6 separate regions of the Homo sapiens genome follow, and regions 1, 2, 4, 5 and 6 are each linked to region 3. The links are contacts of gene promoters, found by promoter capture Hi-C in blood cells and fetal thymus (Javierre and others, 2016). All regions are on one chromosome and are shown on one strand. Each heading gives the region's core, a stretch centred on a gene start or on the middle of the fragment in contact. The rest is flanking DNA. Distances are from core to core; before and after follow the strand shown. Region 1 overlaps TMEM14B-DT (TMEM14B divergent transcript). Region 2 has its middle 2.3 kb from the start of TMEM170B. Region 3 holds the start of TPMT (thiopurine S-methyltransferase). Region 4 holds the start of SMIM13 (small integral membrane protein 13). Region 5 holds the start of C6orf52 (chromosome 6 open reading frame 52). Region 6 holds the start of NEDD9 (neural precursor cell expressed, developmentally down-regulated 9).

Region 1 (2,700 bases), core at 134-2,633, 7.4 Mb after region 3:
CCACCCCTCTCTGTGATATTGACTTTCCTGTGGATCGTGGTGCTGAAGACGACAGGTTTGAGCAAGGAGACTCAAAGAGGCAAGGTGCCCCACGCCAATGACACAAACTTGCTCTGTCCGAGATGCAGGTACAAGCAAGCCTAGCAAAGAGCTGAGCTTTGCCTGTTGGCCTGTGGAGCAACCATGGGTTTTACTGTGTTTCTTGGACAGAGGACACTTGGGGACAGAAGTGAATAGCATGACTATTTCATGCTTATGTATATTTTATGCACTGTATTTAGTGCCTCTTGGACATTTAATGTATCAAATATTTCATGCTCAGGTGTCTCATGTATACTTGGTAGCTAGGAATGTTAGGTATCCTGGACTTTCTATTCCTTTCTGTGTCTAACACATGTTCTACTTACTACTTAACACATCTAATAAAATCTGCCTATGTTTTAAAAACTAAGATTTATCTATACTTAACTTGTACTAAAAGCTTTCCCCTGTATTTCACAAACATATTAATCTTCCTTAAAAGTATTGAATACTCCCAAAAACAAATGTATATTCCAACTTTTTATTTTCAAATGCCACATTAAAAAAACACCCTCTGGCTGGGCGCAGTGGCTCATGTCTGTAATCCCAATATTTTGGGAGGCCAAGGCAAGCAGATCACTTGAGGTCAGGAGTTCGAAACCAGCCTGACCAACATGATGAAACCCAGTCTCTACAAAAAAAATAAGATTAGCTGGGTGTGATGGTGGATGCCTGTAGTCACAGCTACTCAGGAGGCTGAGGCAGGAGGATTGCTTGAGCCCAGGAGTTCAAAGCTGCAGGAAGCTATAATCATGCCACTGCAAAAGGTGACAGAGACCCCGTGTCTTAAAATAGACTTAAGCCAGTTTAAGCCTTTCAGTTAAATGTCCCATGAAGAATTCTGTTTTGAGACTGAGTGTTGCTCTGTCACCCACGCTGGAGTGCAGTGGCGCGATCTTAGCTCACGGAAACCTCTGCCTCCCGGGTTGAGCGATTCTCCTGCTTCAGCCTCCCAAGTAGCTGGGATTACAGGCACATGCCACCATGCCCTACTAATTTTCTTATTTTTACTAGAGACAGGTGTTTCAGCATATTGCCCAGGCTGTTCTCAAACTCCTGACTTCGTGATCCACCTACCTCAGCCTTCCAAAGTACTGGGATTACAGGCGTTAAGCCACAGCTCCCGGCCCCCACCAAGAATTTTAAACAGCTGATACGAATGTGTCCAAATATTGGTTCCTTCCGGTGGGTTCTTGGTCTCGCTGACTTCAGGAATGAAGCCACGGACCCTCACGGTGTTTACAGTTCTTAAAAATAGTGTGTCCACAGTCTGTTCCTTCAGCTGTTTGGATGTGTCTGGAATTTCTTCTTTCCGCTGGGTTCAGTGACCTGCACAGGCCTCAGGAGTGAAGCCACAGACCTTCGCCGTTGACTGTTAACAGCTCTTAAAGGTGGTGCATCCAGAGCTGTTCATTCCTCCCCTGTGGGTTCATGGTCCCGCTGGCTTCAGAAGTGAAGCTGCAGACTTTCGCAGTCAGTGTTATATAGCTCATAAAGGCGGAACGTCCACAGTTGTTCATTCCTCCCTGTGGGCTCATGGTCTTGCTGGCTTCAGGAGTGAAGCTGCAGACCTTTGCAATGAGTGTTACAGCTCTTAAAGATGGCACCTCCAGAGTTGTTCGTTCCTCCCAATGGGCTTGTCATTTACGCTAGTGTCAGGAGTGAACCTGCAGACTTTTACAGTGAGTGTTACAGCTCATAAAGGCAGTGAGGACCCAAACAGTAACCAGCAGTAACAGCAGTAAGATTTATTGCAAAGTGCAAAGGAAGAAAACTGCAACAGCATGGAACAGGACTGATAGGAGAGTTGCCACTGCTGGCTCGGGTGGCCTGCTTTTGGCCCCTTATTTGGCCCCACCCACATCCTGCTGATTGGTCCATTTTACAGAGTGCTGATTGGTCCGTTTTACAGAGTGCTGATTGGTGCGTTTACAATCCTTTAGGTAGACACAAAAGTTCTCCAAGTCCCCACCTGATTAGCTAGACACAGAGTGCTGACTGGTGCGTTTGCAAACCTTTAGCTAAACACAGAGTGCTGATTAGTGTGTTTATAATCCTTTAGCTAGACAGAAAAGTTCTCCAAGTCCCCACCCGACCCAGAAGCCCAGTCGGCTTCACCTCTCAGGAATATCTGCATTATACTCAACTTTGCTGTAATATGCATTCCCTAGGAACTGAGTAGAATTAAATAACATGGAAGCTTCATCAAGTCGCTTTTTTTTTTTTTTTTTTTGAGACAGAGTCTCACTCTTGCCCAGGCTGGAGTGCAGTGGCATCATCTCGGCCCACTGCAACCTCTGCCTCCCGGGTTCAAGTAATTCTCCTGCCTCAGCCTCCCAAGCAGCTGGGATTACAGGCGCCAGCAACCACACCCGGCTCATTTTTTTATCTTTAGTAGACACCGGGTTTCACCGTGTTGACCAGGCTGGTCTTGAATTCCTGACCTCAGGTGATCCACCTCCCTCTGCCCCCCAAAGTGCTGGGATTATAGGTGTGAGCCACCGCACCCAGCCTCAAGTAACTTCATTATCATAAGGTGATCCTACATTGATTCTAGGGAGAATGGCATAAGAGGAATTACATTTGTATCCATTTTTATTCCATCTAAAAATCATATTC
Region 2 (2,700 bases), core at 153-2,652, 6.6 Mb after region 3:
TAGCCAGAGGAGCATCTAAAATCCAACTACAAGTTAAACTCCTCGAAATTGGAAACCTTCTAACTTTAAAAAATAAAAATTTAAGTTTTAGCAGTAACATAAATATGCAGTAGCCAGCCCCTCCCCCCACCTTTTTTCAACCCCTCTGCCATCTGGATAAAGAAAAATTTACAAAGAGAAGTGAAGAAATACCTGCTGTAGCTAAATCATGAAGTATATTTGACAAAGCACTGAAGGGTCAAATTACCTGTCAAATGGTGCTCTTGGTGACCACTTTAAAATAATATTTACATACACATTTATTTCTTTGTTTATTTGTATTTTCTTTTTGATGTCACAACATAAGAGAAATTTTTGCACCATTAATAGGAATTGAGCCAAAACTCTTAATGTAGAGTTTATCTTCCTCCTAGAATTTAGACTTAATTAGATCTATTAACAAGATTACAGAATATCAAACCTAAAAGAGCGCTTTAACATTTTTCTAATTTTATTTTACAGATAGGGAAACAGATTCTGTGAATTAAGTGACTTGACAGAGATGACAGCACTTCACAGCTCAGTTTCTGAATTCCTGGTCTATTATTCTTTCTAGCAACCACATTATCTTTCTTAACCCACTGTTAACTCCCTCACTTTAAGATTCTTGATGGGGAAGTGCAGGTTACCTAATGATATTCTTAAGGGACTTGGCATTACATAATTAGTGATGTTAGGGAATGTGACCACATTCAGTGAAGGGTTCACAGCAAACTCCCTGAGCAGGGGCTCATTAAACTCTCATATCAGAAACCTTTAGTTAGTTTACGTTCTTAGGATTGCACACTATTATTTAAAACACAGTAGCACGCAGTGAAAATATTCAGAACCTGGGACAGTGCCTGGCACCTGCACCACAAATATTTGTTGAATGAATCACTGAATGATCTTCATAGAAAAGTCAGCATTGTTCTTGTTCTGAATAAATATTTTTTACAGAATCCAAGTGTTCATGTCAGGAAATGAGAAAGACACAGCAATGAAGTCTCAAGTCAGTAATGTTATTTGCTGCCCAACAACTTCACCCCTGCTGTTCAGTTCAATTTAATTGGCGTCTATATTTATTTGGCATCTACTATCTGTAATGTTCTGTGCAAGGTGTTATCTGTAACATTTGAAGATAAGATCTCTACTCTCTAGGCTACTTAGGTTTTCCTTGATAAAAGTAATGATCTTGACTGTGTTGGAAGCTTATATCCTTAAGAGAATTAGACATTTTCCCAACAGCCAGAGTTATGAAACCCAAAACTGAGTTAATACAAATGAAAGTTTTGGAATTTCTTTCCTACAGATTTTTTATTTTGAATTAATACACCAATTCAGGAAGAGTTTAGTCACGTTCCTGTCAGAAATCAGGGACCACCCCAAGTGAATCCAAAAATTTCCTTTCAACTCTGTGCCCTTCAGCATGAAACAATTCACAAACGTAATTCATAAACCAAAATTCCTGGTTTATTTCTCTCATGTAAGTGAGGGAACACCCATTAGCCTTAGTCATTTTTAAAACTGTCCAGAGACAACCTAGAGGAAAGCTTTTTAAAATCAATTAAAATATAAAATGATATTGATCTTTTGAGAAAAACATTTTCAGGTATCTTTTCAGAAGCACCCCACTCTACTGGTATCAACTTAACGTATTAGTCCATTTTCACGCTGCAGATAAAGACATACCCAAAACTGGGCAATTTATAAAGGAAGAGGTTTAATTGGACTTACAGTTCCATGTGACTGGGGAAGCCTCACAATCATGGTGGAAGGCAAGGAGGAGCAAGTCCCGTCTTACATGGGTGGCAGCAGGCAACGAGAGAATGAGGAAGACGCAAAAGTGGAGACCCTTGATAAAACCATACAGAGCCAAATTATATCATTCCTCCCCTGGTCCCTGCCAACTCTCATGTCCTCACATTTCAAAATCAATCATGCCTTCCCAACAGTTCCCCAAGGTCTTAACTCATTTCAGCATCAACTCAATAGTCCACAGTCCAAAGTCTCATCTGAAACAAGGCTAGTCCCTTCCGCCTATAAGCCTGTAAAATCAAAAGCAAGTTAGTTACTTCCTAGATACAATGGGGGTACACGCATTGGATAAATACAGCCATTCCGAATGGGAGACATTGGCCACAACAAAGGAGCTACAGGCCCCATGCAAGTCCAAAATCTAGACTGATTCAGCTTGATTCAGCTCAGTCCAGCTCCACAGGTCTTCTCATTTCATACCTGAGGCTGAGGAAGATGTCACGCTCTGAGTACATGCCATTCTCATGGTATAGGGCTGGAACCAGGGCTACAATGGGACACTGGCCTTGCCTGCAAAGCCTTGCCTGCAAGTCTTGACAACAGACTCTGAAACACTCTGTTATCAAGATAAATAATATACTAATATAATATTTTTAAAAATAAAAATTCATGCAAAAATCCATGATTAATGAAATACCAAAATTTTAAATAAACACAGAATCTCACCCTGCACTTGCAAGACCTTGTCTCACCCACCTCATCCTTATCCCAGCTCTGGCATGGACAAGAGAGGCAGGGCTAAACTACACAGGTGCATTTAAAGTTCATGCTCAGATATGGGGTCCATGTCACATGCATGTCACATATCCACATTCCCTTGTTTGAAGCAGATTGCATAGTTAAGCCCCTAAGTGAATGGGATAA
Region 3 (2,700 bases), core at 16-2,515:
ACATCACTGAACCCCAACTTTCTACAGCTGGGTCGGCCTCTTCCTTCCTCTTTCACCTGTCAGCTGCCCGGCCGTTGACTAACAGCTACCCTAATCGGGCCACCCCTCCTCCAGGTCTCCAATCCCAGAGGAGTTACCCCAGCAACCTGGCAATGCTCATCAAGTCTCAACGCGTGGTGGCTGTGCCAGAGAATTACTACAACACCTGCAAGGCTGTGCGGGCTCCTGGCCGCACCCTATCGGCCGGGAAGAACAAGCGAGGGAGTTCCTACTCCAGGACCGTGGGGTTCTCCCGCGGCTCTGACAGTCCCCAGGAGGGAGCCCCAAACTCCCGGTGCCAGCTGCAGCCGCCTCGCTTTCCGAGAAGCTTTCGGAAGCTTTTCGAAGTCGGAGAAGCAACTGCCCCGGGGCTCACCTTTGCGCTGAAGAGGTGCCGGGAGTCTCGGGGAAAAGGCACCGCTGTACAGAAAGGAAACATTGTAGGGGGGTTAGCCGACCGGCAACATCGCGACGAACCCGGCGACCCCACGCCCCAACACCCTAGCCCGGGAATTCCCCCTTCTTCAGACAGATACCCACCCCGCACCCTCTTTTAATCCGGGGCAGGAGGTATCCGTCCCTGGGGCACCCGCCCACCTCCCACCACGGCGAGGGGCGCTGCACAGGGGGAAAGGGAGGGCTTGCACCCCAACCAAGCTGCTTTGTGCAACGCTGTCACCCGAAATCCGCCACGGCCCCCACGCACGCCCCCGGAGTGGGGAGCCTCCCACCTCTGAGCGCCAGCGAGGCGGTGCGCGCCGCCCTGGACTGCGGGCGCCTCTCCGGAGCCGCGCGCCGCGCGCACAGGACGGCTGCAGCCGCGCCGCGAGCCCCAGCCTCTTCTCGGCCGCCGCCGCCGCCGCCGCTTCCGCCCCTGTCACGGCGTGACCCGGGGTGGGAGGAGCCGACAGGACTAGGGATGGGTAGGGTCCCCGCCTTCGCTTTAGCCGCAGCGCTCGCTCCGCCCTGCCCATTTCCGCCGCTGCGCAAACCCCGGCGCTTGGGGAAGTGGGTGGAGTCTGTGCAACGAGGTACGGGGCGGGAGTGGAGACGGGGCGCCGGGAGAGGGGGCGGGAACTGAGGCGGGGCGCGGGAAAGAGGCGGGGCGCGGGAAAGAGGCGGGGCGCGGGCGGAGGCGGGGCGCGGGCGGAGGCGGGGCGCGGGCGGAGGCGGGGCGCGGAGAAGTGGCGGAGGTGGAAGCGGAGGCGTACCCGCCCCTGGGGACGTCATTGGTGGCGGAGGCAATGGCCGGCAACCAGCTGTAAGCGAGGTAGGCTCACTCGGGCGCGGAGGGTGCGGGTGAGAAAGGGAACGATTTGCTAGGAGTGTATGCGCCCGTGCTAGGGCTCCCAGGAATTCTTACAAGCGTAGACAGCCTAGCAATCAGCCCTGTGAAGTGGGGTTCAGGGCAGAAGCGGAAACTGGGAATAACGAGGTCGGACAGTAAATGACCTGAATCCAATGTCCAGGATTTAAAGTGCTTCCAAAGCACTGGTGTGTTTTAATTATTTTTTTTTCTTTTTTCTTTTAGAGACAGGGTCTCCCTCTGTCGCCCATGCTAGCGTGCAGTGGCACAATCATAGCTCACTGTAACCTGGAACTCCTGGGCTCAAGTGATCTTCCCGCCCCAGCCTCCTCGGTAACTGGGACTACAGGCTCGCTGCACCACGCTTGGCTAATTTTTCAAATTTTTTTTTATAGAAACGGACTCTCGGTTTTTTCCCCAGCCTGGTGTATTAGTGATTTTTGGGAAAAAATAAGTACTGCCAAATAGTGAGTGATCCCTGGTGATGTGGGAAACTGGGGTGCTGTAAATATTCTGTCTTGCTCTGCGGTGGTTACACAGGTGTATGTATATGTAAAAAATTCACCGAGTCATACTCTTTTAAGATGTGTGCACCTTAGGAAAGTTTCTTCTCAATTTTATGAAATTTAAAAACAAAACTATAGCAGAAGCTTTTGAAAAGGTGAGAATGGAGACTAGAACAACTTGAGGACTTTGTTTGTGGGCAGAAATTTTTGTGAAATTTCCCTTCCTTAATTCTTGTAATGTGCACTTTTTTTGTATTATAGAAATAAACTTTATTTCTCTAGAAATGATGTATACAAGTGGAGTCCATGCTGAGAAACTGTTAGAACAGCTAAGACGTTGAGCCCAGGAGTTTGAGACCAGCCTGGGTAACATAGCAAGACCCTGTCTCTACAAAATATTTAAAAATTAGCCAGGCATGGTGGTGCACCCTTATAGTCCCAGGTACTCAGGAGGTTGAAGTGAGAGGATCGCTTGAGCCCCAGTGTTGGAGACGGAAGTGTCATTACACCACTGCACTCCAGCCTGGGGGATAGAGAGAGACCCTGTCTCAAAAACAAACAACTAAGACATGATTAAGTTATGTGCATGATTTTGTTAGACAGTTCAAGTTTGTGTGAAAGGAATAGAGTTGTGCTACTCCAGGCTGCTGTGGAACTCTGATAAAGATTATGCTTCTCTTTTAAGTAGAGAACTGCTTTATGAAGCCTTGAATTTAGGTTCCAGAGTTTCTGAATGAAAATGAGAAAACTGCAACATTCTTTTGCTTTTCTGTACCCAATATAAATCAGATACTTTCTACTGACCTCTCAGAAAACTCAGAGTCACCTCCTGATACCATCAGGGTCTTG
Region 4 (2,700 bases), core at 130-2,629, 7.1 Mb after region 3:
CCCATTATTACATCAACCTGAACCCATACTTCAGTCTTATAAATATGTGTAAACTCACTGACACGTGTTCTACGTACTTTTTAGATTTTCACAATTGCTTAGCCACTTTGCTAAGAGACCTGTGGTTATCAGCTACTATACATGTACAAAGAAATCAAAAAGATCTAAAATTGGGCTACCATTATTTGAAGAAAAAAGTTGAACGTCCTCTCATTCCAAGAAGGAAAATACGCACAGCATTCGAAATAGCACCATTATTATAGAACTGAGAGTTAGGTTACCCGACCCTGCAAGTTTAATATAGCCGGTGTTTCTAAGCTCTGCCTGGTCTCCACATCTCTGCTTGGAATTGAGTTTAAGGCTGAACTCTAAGTAAACAATTTCACGCGTGCTGAAAACCCAACTCTACCCCACTCGCTGATGAAACGAAGGTGACACCTCTCATTATTAAGGTCAGAATCTGTGCAAATGAAAAAGGACCAATCAATCACTTCACCTTCGAATGCAGGCCAAGGTTACAATCTGGGCAGCCTGTGGTGAGAATGAAAGAGCAGACGCTGCCGGTGAAGCAAGGCTGAGTTTCACTCAGAGGCAGGAAGCCCTGGAGCCTGTCCTTTCCCTCCCCAGGATGCCCGAGGGCCGGCCATGAGTAAAGGGCCCACCTCTGCGCTCAGCCCTAGAGGCTAAGGGACAACAGTTGATTTTAAGACAATTGTCCGTCCACGCCCTTTTGTTTTTTTCAAAAAAACAAACAACAAAAAAAACCCCAGCAGATCAGCGACCCGGCGTGTGGAACTGCCTCGCGGCTACCGCCCCCACTCACCGCACACCATCAGCAGCAGGACGATCAGCAGCGTGGCCACGAACACAAGCAGAGTCAGCCCGACGCTGTGCCACATCTTGGGGGCAGAAGGGCAGTCGGCTCGGGGCGGCTGGCGCGGACGGCGGTGAGCGCGGGCGGCGGCGCGTCCTGCGCTTCAGCGGCGGGCGCCAGGCGCGGCTGGGCGCCGGGGCGGCATGGGCGGCTGGCGCCCCCTCGGCAGCGCCCCCAGGGGGTGGGGCGGCGCAAAGGCGGGCACTGTGGGACCGCCCGCCCGCCCGATCCTTTTCCCGCCGGGGTGGCCAGAGCGCGGGAGGCAGGCGGGCCTCAGGGCGCCTCTAGTCCCTCATCGCCCCGGAGAGCCGAGGCCGCGGCACCCAGAGACCCCAGCGGTCGGATGCGCTTCCATGGCGGACGCCGCGCGCCTGTAGGGAGGACAGAGGGTAAGCACGGGTACACACGGCGGCCACAAGGCCCTCGTCGCTGTCCACCCGTGTCTCTGAGACCCCAGGGATGCCAGATGTCAGCGTCGCCCGGCCGCGGCTGTAGCGGCTTCTCCGCCCCAGGCCCCCTACCGCTGGGGCAGCTCATCACCAAGCTCGCCTCCTCCGCGGCGCGGGGTCGGCTGGGAGATGGAGTGCAGAGCCTGGTGGAGTCGGGACGGCGTTGTCTCGCAGGGACTACAACTCCCAGAATGCACCGCCACTCGGGCTTCGCTGCTTTCATTCTCGGGCGGCTCTGCCTTTGGTCTTGCTCAAGTCGCCTCAGTCGGACGACCGTGGGCTGGCCTTCTCCAAAGCCGCGGATCTGGCTGCCCGTCCTGCTGAGGCGCCAGTGAGATTTCAACCATTACTCCGTATACAAAGTCGTTTTGTTTCTAGCCGTAATCGATGAAGTACGGCGAGAGAGGAAAGAGGAGGCGGCTGCCTGAAAAACTGGTTGCTCGTGCACCTAGCCCTGTTGCCGGGGGCGAAGGTTGGCTATTTGGGACTTGGAGGAAGAACTCAGGTCCCTGCCGCAGACGCGGGTCAGGACACGAAATCTCATTTTCCCCCTGCAACAGATGTTATGTTCTATCTTTTCGTAAGTAAAGCATTTCAGAAATGGCCCGCGGGTGACTTAAGGACAGCTGCACTGCCCTCAAATCACCTGCCTGAGTTGTAAGTTAGACCCAGCTGCCTCCTTGAGACCAAGCTTGGAGATTTTGCCGCACTGGCTTACACCTCTACGAAACAAGACACTGTAGTAATCTCAACTACTGTATCTCCACCCAAAATTGAAACTCCCCACTTCCGCCAGATTACATTCATTTGTTAAAGAGGTGCCCCCAGAAGAATAGAGGGTAAATGTGTCCCTCTTTTAGAAGGAATCAGAGCCTTCGAGTTTTCCTGTGATTCTTTTGCTCCCTGAGATACCTTTTTACTCTTCTAAAAATTACAGTTTCCTGTCTTCTGTCTCCAAAAACAAACACAAAAGTTCTAAGCAGCAATCCCTTGATTTAATAAATGTATCCTGCCATACCCAGCTGCCCTACTATGTGAACTGTATTCCCTAAGAAGCAACATTAGGAACAAATACCATGTATAAAAATACATTAAAGGATAATTACTTGCTTTGCAACAGATTTAATATAGATTCCTGTGAAGAGAATGAACCCAGTGCAATTAAGATATATTTACAAAAAATCAGTGTGTGCTTTTTTCATGGGTGGTTCAATTATGTTGCATAATTAAAACACATTTTATTAAAAGCCAGTTGAAAATACGCGTCAGGGCTAGGCGAGGTGGCTCACGCCTGTAATCCCAGCACTTTGGGAGGCTAAGGCGAGCAGATCACCTGAAGTCAGGAGTTCGAGACCAGCCTGGCCAACATGGTGAAAC
Region 5 (2,700 bases), core at 77-2,576, 7.5 Mb after region 3:
ATTCAAAACACATCACTTTTCAGCCAAAGACAAAGAGCAAATAACTGGAGTAGGAAACAAAATAAACGAAAGCAATAGGCCAAGTGATATACTTCCAAATTTTCTGGATAATTAAAGACCGACGCCTTGACTTCATAAAGAAGTACTGTACTCAATTTTCTAGAAAATGCTTAGAATTGCTTCAAGAATAAAAGTGAGCTAGATGTTAGGAGGTCGGATTCCTAGTCGTGAGTATAGTCCTATCTACCTATTTGACTACTGATAATTTATTTGACCTTTTTATCTATTCACACATCTAGTAATATCATATTCTGCTGTAATTTCTCTCCATCTATGCGTCTCCTCAGTCCTCCACCCCTTATGTAGGCAACGTCTCTAAGGCAAGATCCATACCTCCAGCATCTTTGCATCTCCACCGCCCAGCTCGCCATAAGTTCCCAACAAATAATGAATTGGTATCGCTTTACCTATAAGGGATTTATCCTAATCTAGTTCTAGTAATTTGTAAAATTCCAGGGCAGAAATTCAGCAAAAGAGCGAGATCTTCTTTCATTAAATTCTGAATACTGTCAACTTATGGGATCGATCCTTAAATCCACAATCTACGACTCATTTGTCCGTATGCAGAAATGCCGGTTTCCTTTGTGTCCCGTGGACCTTTTGTCTACTAGAAAAGGCAGATATTGCCTCATTTTGATAAAATGTCCATTCTACGGTTTAAAAGGTTAGCTTTTCTCTTAAGTCTCTTAGGTTTGATTCATCAAATCATCCAGTGAACAGCAGGCGCTCCAATGTTCACCTCTGCTGTGTAGGAACCAAACCCGACCTTCCCGGCCCCGCCTCCGACTGTCTCTAACTACGCGGTATCTCACCTCGTGGTCGCCGCAAGCCTCGGGCTCCGGGTGTACAGCGAACCCAAAGAGGACCTGCTCGTAGCAACCAGCGACCAGCTCCATTCAGCAGCGCACGTGCCTCTTCCGCCAGCCCGGCTCAGCCTGGAGGTGACAGAACCGGAAACCAAAAAAAAAAAAAAAAAAACACCTGACTCCTTTCTGCATCGGCGCTCGAATTATACGTCAGGCTCCAGGGCTGCCTTTAAGTCGCCTGTAACGTGGAAACACTTTAAGCGCGGGGAGGTCACATGGATTTTCCAAGAAGAGAATAAGTAAAGATGCCACATGAGGAGGTTCTCACTGCAAGGAGAAAAAAATCGGGGGCAAGCAGGCATATCTCAGGAAGGTGCCAGCTACGCCCGTCTGAAGGGAGCGGGCGGGACATCCTCTGCGAAGCCCTTCATTTCCGTGACATCAGGAGGAGGTGGGGCCGACTTCCGGCCGGTTGCTTAGGGGCTGTAGCGCCGGCAGCGTGCATTGTTGTGGGCTGTGTACTAGTAGGGTAGGAGTTTTTGTTCAGGGACCAGCGGAACGAGGCTTTCTGTCGTTAATAGGGTAAGGAGGGGTGGGATTAGGGTTCGCGGTGACTTGTTCCAGCGGCGCAGCGCTCGCGCTGCCTTGACGGACTCGGAGTGCTAGATGTGTCCGCGTTCCCGTCTGCCCGGGCCAGAACCCCAGCCCTGCACACTTTCTCTGTCTGCTTGTCTAACTCTGGGGCTGTATTGGCCAAGGTTGCGGCACCTCCTGGGGAGGGAGCAGTGAGCCTTCATTTTTTTTTTTTTTTTTTTGAGACGGAGTTTCGCTCTTTTTGCCCAGGCTGGAGTCCGGTGGCGCGATTTCGGCTCACCGCAACCTCTGCCTCCCGGGTTCAAGCAATTCTCCTGCCTCAGCCTCCCGAGTAGCTGGGATTACAGGCATACGCCACCACGCCTGGCTAATTTTGTATTTTTTAGTAGAGACAGGGTTTCTCCATGTTGGCTAGGCTGGTTTTGAACTCCCGACCGCAGGTGATCCGCTTGCCTCGACCTCCCAAAGTTGCTGGGATTGCAGGCGTGAGCCACAGCGCCCGGCCAGAGCCTTCATTTGAGAGTTGGGAAAACAAAGTGAGCCTGAGCAACATATTTTGATGCCGTCTCTACAAAAATGTTATAAATTAGCCCAGCATGGCGACGCCCGCCTGTGGCCTCAGCAACTCGGAAGGCTGAGGTGGGAGGATTGCTTGAGCCCAGGAGGTCGAGGCTGCAGTGAGCCGAGATCGCTCCACTGCATTCCAGTCTGGGGGACGAGCCAGGCCCCCTTTCAAAGAAAAAAAAAGTTTTATTTAATAAGGTTTAGAGATTCAGGTATGTCTTAGACATTACAGCTTTCCTACAAGCTCCCAACAGAGTAAATCTTGGTTCGTATAGTTCTCATAAACACCGTAGTAGGTCATTTGGTAAACAAGATGCATAGTCCATCCTTCTCAAATCTTCAGCCTCCATTTCAAGTGCGATACAGTGCTTCAGCGCTTAGACCCTTTTGTTTCCAATAACTTTTCTTCTCTGGTGTTCTGAATTGTTAGTACGTGTTAATAGAGGCTAGTTTGGGTCTTGCAGAAATGATTTCATTTGGGATGCTTTGGTTGTCACTGCAGTGCAGAAAAGACCTTGTTATTGTTAGAAATAGATAATTGGTGACACGAAGAAAAGTCAGCATGGAGACAAAAGATCTCTCAGCAAGGCAATTTTTACTTTATGCAGAAAGGGTGCTCAATTGCAGATGGAACGATGGTGAGAGCACTCCTGAACAAAGGAAAAGCAGACATATT
Region 6 (2,700 bases), core at 97-2,596, 6.9 Mb after region 3:
CTTAAAAAGAATGTATCTCCTTTTCCTGTTCTTTCTCTTTCTGTCTTCTTTTTTGGCGGGGGCGGGAGGACAGAGTAAGGTTCAGGACGGTTCCCCACTTTCTGTTTTATTTTCCACCGTCTGATAAAGCAAAAAGAAGCGATCACATTACAAGTTCTTTGTCAGTTTTTCAGAATTAGGGGTGGGCAGGGCCTGAGCATTACCTTGTCCCACTAGCCAATGGCGGGGCGGCATGCAAATGAGGTCCGCGATCAGCCTGCCTCAGTCACAACAGTGAGCTCAGAGACTTGAGGGAGGCGCTGCGACTGACAAGCGGCTCTGCCCGGGACCTTCTCGCTTTCATCTAGCGCTGCACTCAATGGAGGGGCGGGCACCGCAGTGCTTAATGCTGTCTTAACTAGTGTAGGAAAACGGCTCAACCCACCGCTGCCGAAATGAAGTATAAGGTAAGAGAGTGCCTTTTACAGGTTACCTTGCAAGCTGAAAGCTGTGCCTGCGGGTGTGTGCTTGTGTATGCGTGTTCCTTACTGTCAGTCCCTTGTGTGTCCCGGAGAGTTCTAAGATGAGTCTCGGTCACTGAGGTTGACATGCAAGCAGACAAGCAAGCAGAGACCCGGTCTTTGAGACCCACTCCAGGGGTTCACAGTACACCCGAGTCCATCTGCTCTGAAAGTTGCCGGGGAAATACCTCGGTGAGAAGTTAAGACTTGGAGCCGCTTCACAGCAGCCACTGGAGATCAGAGGGTGTCTGACTTGAATCGCGGCAGGCATTGGCTCAAGTCTCCTTGGCTTCCCCAGGCCTGGCTTCCACTGCCCTGGGGAACTGTAATGAGAGGAATGAGGACTGCATAGTCTGTCTCAGACTGGCTCTTAGTGCAAAGTTTTCCAGACTTTGCTTTAATCGTTTGGTCTCGGAAGGAGTATGCCATATGCACTTTTGGTGGGAGAAATTAAAAGCCCAGATTACACAGCTGAGGATGGAAAATTTTGACATCCTTATGTTATATTGGATGTAGGAATAAATAAGTATGAGCCATTTCTTGAAAACATTTTTATTGGAGTTTGAATGGGGTGAGAGTGCGAAGGCTCAGGCTGGCTCATTGTGCCTGAAAGCTTACAGAGTGTCATAGTCATAGTACTTCAGCAGCATTATTTTCCAATGCATTTTACACCATTGTTTGTGGATTTTTCTTGCCAAAAGGATTTTTGACTTGCTCCGTATATTCCCCCCTCCCCTTTTTCTTTTAAGTCACTCCCATCTAAGGAGGCAAGCAGCTTCCAGGGGACACAAAGAAAGCAGACTGCAATGAATTGGACATGAATTTTTCTTGAATGATGAATAGACATGAGTGCTAGTGCTACTATTTTATTTTATGCTATTTTAAACAAAAGTGTTATTATTAAGATGGATTTGGGCAAGGGTGCTAGGCTTGTGGATTGACAATTTATATTAACTGTACACTAGCTGGAAGCTACTTCGCTTTTTTTCTAAATTTTTCTGGTCCATCCTTTTTTGATGTAAGGTTGTAAATACTTGGTCTAACTGATAGCCACTGACTAGCCTCAGTAATAAAGCTTTTGTTCAAAAACTATGAATCTTATTCAAAAGCTTTAAGTCTAAATGTCAAAAGTCTTTATAGTAATGCCTACGTTACCACTGTCTGAAGACACAGGTATCAGCTATTTCTGTTTCATCAGCTTTCTATTATCTTCATCAGTAGGGAAGATCAGAGGAAAGGGTCATCCTGAAGACTATTAATATTTGACTTTAGGATGCAACCAGAAACAAATCCCTCTACTTGGCAGGAAAGTTATCTTCCTTAAAGTGGCTCACCCCATATTTCCTTATTTAGAACAATGATAGGACCAGATATTACTCAGCCTGGAGTGACTTTTTTGCTCCTCCTTTCCCTGTTGTTGAATAAGAACTGGCTTGCAGAAAAAAGAGAAAGTATGTTCATATGTCTATTATTGGAAAGTATAAATGGCTGAAATTAACATTGAGTGCTATAATCTAGAAAGTGACGAAAGCGACAAAGTCTCAAGTCACTTTTATTCAATGATCTCATCGTGGTTAGCTTTACTCTTTATGGAAAGAAAATCTAAAGGCAACTGATAAAGTGACTGACAGCGTAAACTGCGATTGGCATTCATGGAGAAACCTGCTTCTCCACTGGGCCTTACTGGTGTTGAACACCTTGCCAAATGATGTAAATACATGATTTTTATTACCTTGTAGGCACCTTCACCAGCAAAAAAGCTAACTTCTCCGACCGAACACATGACTTATGCCCTATGATGACTATTAAATCAACCAATAGCTGAAGAAATCCACTTTCCTTTTTTATAAAGTTTTCTTTCTCTCTAGTTAATAATGAACAACTTTACTTCAGGAAAGGATTTTGTTATTGTAAGTAGAGGAGAGACACAAAAGTAATGAAGTAACATTAATTGAGACTTACTGTGACAACACAAGATTGTCATATTCAACTCTCCCAATAGCTCTACAAGGTGGGTATTATTTTTATACTCAATTTCAAATGACACAGAGAGGCTAAGTAATTTATCTAATGCCACACAGCTAGAAAGTGGTGAGCTGGGATTAGAACTAAGGCGATCTGGCTCCAGAACTCATGACTTTAACCACTATTAAGAGAAAGAGAAAGAGCTATCGTTGACCTCTCTAAAATATGGCCAGTG

The links. The method cuts DNA at HindIII sites, captures the fragments that hold promoters and counts their contacts. A CHiCAGO score of 5 or more calls a contact.
Region 1: a fragment that was not itself captured here is called in contact with the fragment with the promoter of TPMT in region 3 in 1 of 17 cell types (total CD4 T cells); the score reaches 6.3 in total CD4 T cells.
Region 2: a fragment that was not itself captured here is called in contact with the fragment with the promoter of TPMT in region 3 in 2 of 17 cell types (non-activated CD4 T cells and naive CD4 T cells); the score reaches 8.7 in non-activated CD4 T cells.
Region 4: the fragment with the promoter of SMIM13 here is called in contact with the fragment with the promoter of TPMT in region 3 in 5 of 17 cell types (naive CD8 T cells, fetal thymus, total CD4 T cells and 2 more); the score reaches 11.0 in naive CD8 T cells.
Region 5: the fragment with the promoter of C6orf52 here is called in contact with the fragment with the promoter of TPMT in region 3 in 2 of 17 cell types (activated CD4 T cells and naive CD8 T cells); the score reaches 5.5 in activated CD4 T cells.
Region 6: a fragment that was not itself captured here is called in contact with the fragment with the promoter of TPMT in region 3 in 1 of 17 cell types (non-activated CD4 T cells); the score reaches 9.2 in non-activated CD4 T cells.

The regions. Positions count from the first base shown.
Region 1 is chr6:10,741,075-10,743,774 of GRCh38, reverse strand. It overlaps TMEM14B-DT (TMEM14B divergent transcript), which reads left to right. Exons shown (of 2, transcript NR_187231.1): 2 at 1-451. Among named protein-coding and RNA genes, the nearest start is that of TMEM14B-DT, 5.2 kb to the left of the region's middle. The HindIII fragment of the contact is 1,800 bases long and covers 484-2,283 here.
Region 2 is chr6:11,534,097-11,536,796 of GRCh38, reverse strand. No RefSeq gene overlaps it. Among named protein-coding and RNA genes, the nearest start is that of TMEM170B, 2.3 kb to the left of the region's middle. The HindIII fragment of the contact is 342 bases long and covers 1,232-1,573 here.
Region 3 is chr6:18,153,642-18,156,341 of GRCh38, reverse strand. TPMT (thiopurine S-methyltransferase) reads left to right here and starts at 1,265. Exons shown (of 9, transcript NM_000367.5): 1 at 1,265-1,309. It overlaps KDM1B (lysine demethylase 1B), which reads right to left and starts at 920. Exons shown (of 22, transcript NM_001364614.2): 1 at 771-920; 2 at 416-459. RefSeq lists an enhancer at 1-219 and a silencer at 660-1,219. The HindIII fragment of the contact is 1,618 bases long and covers 380-1,997 here.
Region 4 is chr6:11,092,513-11,095,212 of GRCh38, reverse strand. SMIM13 (small integral membrane protein 13) reads right to left here and starts at 1,379. Exons shown (of 2, transcript NM_001135575.2): 1 at 824-1,379. The coding sequence starts at 899. RefSeq lists enhancers at 690-809, 690-1,231, 1,480-1,689, 1,232-1,772 and a silencer at 910-1,219. The HindIII fragment of the contact is 2,504 bases long and covers 1-2,016 here.
Region 5 is chr6:10,693,242-10,695,941 of GRCh38, reverse strand. It overlaps C6orf52 (chromosome 6 open reading frame 52), which reads left to right and starts at 1,326. Exons shown (of 5, transcript NM_001145020.3): 1 at 1,326-1,448. PAK1IP1 (PAK1 interacting protein 1) reads right to left here and starts at 970. Exons shown (of 10, transcript NM_017906.3): 1 at 873-970. The coding sequence starts at 956. RefSeq lists enhancers at 943-1,322, 752-1,354, 1,363-1,412. The HindIII fragment of the contact is 16,030 bases long and covers 1-2,700 here.
Region 6 is chr6:11,230,250-11,232,949 of GRCh38, reverse strand. NEDD9 (neural precursor cell expressed, developmentally down-regulated 9) reads left to right here and starts at 282. Exons shown (of 7, transcript NM_006403.4): 1 at 282-446. The coding sequence starts at 435. LOC124901256 (a long non-coding RNA gene) reads left to right here and starts at 2,240. Exons shown (of 2, transcript XR_007059449.1): 1 at 2,240-2,511. RefSeq lists silencers at 195-244, 725-774. The HindIII fragment of the contact is 462 bases long and covers 1,116-1,577 here.